Regions from separate parts of the Homo sapiens genome. Here region 1 is linked to region 2. The links are contacts of gene promoters, found by promoter capture Hi-C in blood cells and fetal thymus (Javierre and others, 2016). All regions are on one chromosome and are shown on one strand. Each heading gives the region's core, a stretch centred on a gene start or on the middle of the fragment in contact. The rest is flanking DNA. Distances are from core to core; before and after follow the strand shown. Region 1 overlaps DGKH (diacylglycerol kinase eta). Region 2 holds the start of MTRF1 (mitochondrial translation release factor 1).

Evidence for each region. The method cuts DNA at HindIII sites, captures the fragments that hold promoters and counts their contacts. A CHiCAGO score of 5 or more calls a contact.
Region 1: a fragment that was not itself captured here is called in contact with the fragment with the promoter of MTRF1 in region 2 in 1 of 17 cell types (M2 macrophages); the score reaches 5.5 in M2 macrophages.

What each region holds. Positions count from the first base shown.
Region 1 is chr13:42,181,891-42,184,752 of GRCh38, reverse strand. All of the region lies in intron 13 of DGKH (diacylglycerol kinase eta), which reads right to left. It also overlaps the pseudogene CHCHD2P11. Among named protein-coding and RNA genes, the nearest start is that of AKAP11, 89 kb to the left of the region's middle. The HindIII fragment of the contact is 6,696 bases long and covers 1-2,862 here.
Region 2 is chr13:41,262,298-41,265,074 of GRCh38, reverse strand. MTRF1 (mitochondrial translation release factor 1) reads left to right here and starts at 1,499. Exons shown (of 10, transcript NM_004294.4): 1 at 1,499-1,590. RefSeq lists a silencer at 1,204-1,293 and an enhancer at 1,581-2,081. The HindIII fragment of the contact is 4,724 bases long and covers 1-2,777 here.

The DNA of each region.
Region 1 (2,862 bases), core at 54-2,553, 920 kb before region 2:
TAGGACCACAGGTCCATGTCACCATGCTGAGCTAATTTAAAAAAATTTTTTTTGGTAGAGATGTAGTCTCTCTGTGTCGCCCCAGCTGGTCTCTAACTCATGGCCTCAAGCGATCCTCCTGACTTGCACTCCCAAAGCAATGAGATTACAGGGGTGAGCCACTGCATAAGGCCTAGACAGAACTTTTGGCATTTCCAACATTTTATTTCCTTAATTTTGTTCTCTTCCTTCAAAATTGAACATAGTCAACTGTGTGAACCAAATACTCAGTTGAGGCTAACAACAGTCCACATTTCACATACCTGATGATTTCCACTATCATCTCTACTATATTACATATGTTAGACCCATACTTCTCATCACTAGTATTAGTACCCTCATTTATCACCTTTCCACTTAATTTCTTAAAGTGTGGGCAAATGACAGTAAAATATGCACATACTACACTAAGATAAATATGGCAATGGTACCCAGACAGAATCATAGATTGGCAGGCAGGGTCATCATATCTGAAAAATTCATTTTTCATCTAATAAAAAGTTCCAATTTGAAACTGAAGATGATTTAGAAGTATCAATGCATAATACATAAAAATCTCTAGCTATCTTTGTCTCTAGCTGTCTTTGTGCTCTGAGGAAATATTTTTAACAACTACCTCACTTTACCAATTAAATGAGGCGGGTTGGCCTAAATTATCCCTAAAGTAGATTCCAAATCTAAATTCTATGGTTCTATGACAATGGCGTCAATATTCCTGCTAGCTAGTTATCCCATTTTCTGAAACTTTTGTACACAGAACAAAATGCATTTATTTCAAAACTTGGGGGGTGAGTAGAGTGCGTAAGTAAAAAACCTAATTAACTCCTACTGTTAAAGCTAAAAAAGTTTTTAAACTACTGACTAAATAAAAGGAGAGACATACATTGTAGCTAAAGACAACTTATTTAATAACTGTTTTACATTTTTACTAATAAATGGTATCTATGATTGCTAGTTAGAGCTGTGATTCTCAGAAGATAACTCTTATTACCATACCAAATTGATGAAGTTCTAAGGTCAAAGAAATGTTGTTTTAGGTTAACCTACATGTTAGCTATGTTAGTGGAATACAACTTTTCCATTAGCATTTCAACATTTTAAAAATAGCTGAAAACAGTTAAGGCTACTGGGAATTATTATTGCATGAAATAAATACAAACAGGCACAAGAGGGTTTAAACATTTTGCCTTAATATTGTATCACTGAATAAATAAATAACATTCACAAAAAAAGGGAATTCTTTATCTAGGTAGTAATTACAAGTGTGTATGTGTGTCTGTGTGTGACTGTGCGTACATGCAGTATTTTTTTAATCATTGAGTTGTGCTCTTGTGATTTAGGTGCTTTACTGTATATGTCATGCCTCAGTAAGAATTGTTTTTTAAAGGGAAACCATTATAGAATTTTTAAGTGTTTTTTTTTTTTAAGACGGGATCTCACTCTGTCATCCAGATTGGAGTGCAATGGCGTGATCACAGCTCACTGCAGCCTCGAACTCTCATGCTCAAAGGATCCTCTCAACTCAGCCTCCTGAGTAGCTAGGACTACAGGCACATACCACCACACCCAGCTAATTTTAAAACTTTTTGTAGAGATGGGATTCCACTATGTTGCCCAGGCTGGTCTTGAACTCCTGGGCTCAAGTAATCCTCCCACCTTGGCCTCCCAAAGTGTTGAGATTATAGGCATGGACCACCATGCCTGGTCAAGATTTTTAAAGTCTTAAAGAGATATCACTCAAATGTAGTGTGTGAGCATTGTCTGAATTTTGAACAAATAAAGTGTGTGTGGTTTTTTTTTTTTTTAAAGACCTTGTCAAAATTCAGACAAGGTTCACAGAAAAACCTCTGAGAAAACTAAGGGAAATGGGATATGGCTTAAGTAATATTGATAGTGTTAGAGAATTATTATTAATTTTTAGATTTTTAAAAAGATTATATGTGCGCACATGCACACGTGCACACAAGCACACACACACACATACAGTTAGCCCTCCATATTCATGGGTTCCACATCCATGGAGTCAACCAACCATGGTCTGAAAACATTTGAAAAAGAAAACAGATTGTTTTGTCTACACTGAATATGTGCAGACTTTTTTTTGTCATCATTCCCTGAACAATACAGTATAACAACTATTTACATAGCAAATACATTTGTTATTATAAATAATCTAGAGATGATTAAAGTATGTGGAAGGATGTGTGTAGGTTATATGCAAATACTATGGCATTTTCTATGAGGGACTTGAGTACCTATGAATATTGGTATCCAAGGGGGTCCTGGAGCCAATCCCCCATGGATAGAGAGGGAGGACTATATACCAAAAGTGTAGTAGAATAATTTTCAGGATGTTCTTAGAGATACTGTAGCAAAATAAAGTAGGAAGCAGATGGCAAAATGTTGGTAAATACTGAAACTGAATGATGGGTACAGTGGGAAGTAATTATATCAGTTTTGTTTGAAAATGTCCATAAAAATAAAATTTAGAGATGCTGAGCCACTGCCCATTTGTGATGGCACATGGAAGTCAAAGCTGCACCTCCAGCATGGCCCCTCTGGCCAGCCAGCCACCTCCAATGAGACCTGCACCCCGGCCAGCACCAGCAGCTCAGCTGCCAGCACCAGCAGCTCAGCTGCCAGCACCAGCAGCTCAGCTGCCAGCACCAGCAGCTCAGCTGCCAGCACCAGCAGCTCAGCTGCCAGCACCAGCAGCTCAGCTGCCAGCACCAGCAGCTCAGCTGCCAGCACCAGCAGCTCAGCTGCCAGCACCAGCAGCTCAGCTGCCAGCACCAGCAGCTCAGCTGCCAGCACCAGCAGCTC
Region 2 (2,777 bases), core at 250-2,749:
AATCAGAATAAATAATTAAAGAACTTTTTGGATAACTTAGGAGAATGACTTTATGTAGACCCTTTGAAACTTTTCCCCTACTGGAACATAAGCTCCATGTGGGCAAAGGTTTTTGTCTTTTCTGTTCATTGCTAAATCCTCATGACTAGAATAGTGAATAGCACATAACTGGTGTTCACTATTTATTGAATACATGATTGAAGGTTTTTTCTTTTTTGGAGCAGGGTGGCCCTATATCAGAGCTTAGGAGCCACAGATCATTAAAGCCATTGCCTTAATTGAGTCTTGGCTCTATCACTTACTGTTTTTTACCTTGGAGTAGTTACTTTAGCTCTGTGTGCCTTAATTTTCTCCTCTGCAAAATAAGTATTTTAAGGTTGTAAAAATTAAATGAATTAATAGGGTAAAACCATTTAGAACAGTATTTAGTACATAGTACATAGAAGTAGGTACCTTGAAGTTGGCTATAAACGTTAGATATTATTTTGCATATATAGCTAATTCTCCTATCTATGTATGTGATTATAATCTAAGAAAATACTCTGTAAAGTCAGTAATATGGTACATTTTTTGCCTTTTCTTTCAGGAAGAAAAATTGAGGCATGGAGATAGAAAGACTGTAAATTGCGATAGCCAAGGGCTGGATCCCACTGGATTAGTCAAAGTAGGACAATATGCTTGCATTTTCCTGCAATTGTTTATTAACTGGAGTTTTCATTCTTCACTTAATCAGTGGTTCATAAGCTATGAATCTAGGTTGAGCCCCTACATTCCCATGTGCAAAGAACATTATAAAATCACTAACATGTGGAAATACACGGTCTCCTAACTTTTGGGGCTGTTACTACTTTTAAAATATAAATTTATTTGTATTATCCTTTAGTCATTAGGTATTTTCTGAAGCAATGGAAGCTGAAAGTATAGAAATTACACGCAGAATCTTCTACATTTGTGGATGATGTAAAAGGAGTCTTTATTTTTTTTAAATATTGGAAAACAGTGCTTTACGGGCTTCTAATACATAAGGAAATTATTGTAATTTCACATGCAATGTGTTCTAAATCTTGATCTCTTAATCAGAATCGTAAAGAATCTCTCTTCTAGGTTTGCAGTTAACGGTGAAAACCAAAAACTCCACATTTGGCTGGATAGTGAGTGGAGGGGGTTGGAGGCTGCCGCAAGGTAAACTACAACTCCCAGGATTCTTTGGTGGGCGCTCTGGGAGTTGTAGTTTAGTCCCACCTTGGCCCCTCCCTCCCTCCCTCCCTCCCACCATCTCCATCCCCGCTCTGGGCTCACGCTCTGGATAAGGACGGCGCGGGGGCGGTTGTCTGATGACAATTTCATTCTCGTTTTGTCATTTTTCTCATTTAGCTCATTTTTGTCATTTTAGTCCATTGTTAGGCATGCTCGAGGACAACTCCTCCGGAGAGCGGTAGTGGCGGAGGAGGGGCCGGGAGCGTGCGTTAACCCGGAAGAAGTGAACCAGGAAGTGAACGTGATCTCGGGTTTGTCGGGCTGAAATGTGGCGGGTCTCGGAAGGTTCCGACCTCAGTAAAGAGAGCTAACGTGTATTCTTCTTTTTCTTAGGTACTCACAGTTCTTTCCTGATCTTCCCCGCCGCCTCCTGTATTGCCTCTTTATGGAATCACTCCATATACTGAGTTACACAGCATGGTTTGCCCGTGCTGCTGCCCCGCGGGCTGTCGCTTCTGACCTGCCTACACTCAGAACTTTCCCCAAAGCATCAGAGTAATACTGTTACTGTGATGGGTAATGGAGAAGTCGTGCTGTTCTCAGGTGTAGTTAACCTTGGAGAGTAAACATCTTGTTTTGTTTTGTTTTCCTTAATGTTGAGATTCATGACCTTGAAAATTATGCATTCTACTACTGTTCCTAAAATGGAAATTTTAGCAATAAGTATTCGTACAAACATATATTTGTCATCCTTTTATTCTGTCTGTTAGCAAATGGATACACTTTCTCTAACGTGCTTGAAATACGGGGGTGGTGGAGTGTAACGTTTGTGACAGCTGGCCATTGGTGCTTTCTTCAACAGTTCTTTTAATAATGTGATGCAGTATCCTAAAATCTATCAGTAGAACTCTGGAAACTGAATATTTTAAAGACCATTCTGACTATTTTATTTCCTAGGTGATAATGCTAAGTTAACAGACTTATAGTGAACAAATGAGCTAATATATCAATGCACCTCCTAGCATAGTAGGATCACTGGAGACAGTAAAGTTTGATTTTGATAAATGTTGATCCTTCTTTTTTTGAGTTGAGTCTCACTGTGTTGCCCAGGCTGGCCTTGAACTCCTTGGCTCAAGTGATCCTCCTGCCTCAGTCTCCTGGGTAGCTGGGACAATAGGTGCATGCTACTGTGCGTGGCTTGACCCTTATTTCAACTTTGAACCTTAGAGTTTTCTTAGAACACTTTATATTCTCCCTTTCTTACTCAGTAAGACCATTGTGTACTTTTGTTAGCTCTTGATTATCTCTGTTGGAGGGGAGGAGAACAGAAAATTATTGTACACAGCCAATTTCACCTAACCTGTAATTTTTTAAACTAATCTTTTTTTATGATTAGGAAAGTATTCCATGCTACATGTGCAAGAAACTTGGAAAACACTGAAAAGTAGAAAAAATAGCAAGCAAAAGGTATTCATAATCTCACAACTAGAGATCATTTTATTAACATTTTGGTATGTTTCTTTTTTTTTTTTTTTTTTTGAGACAGCGTGTTGCTTTGTCGCCCACGCTGGTTGCAGTGG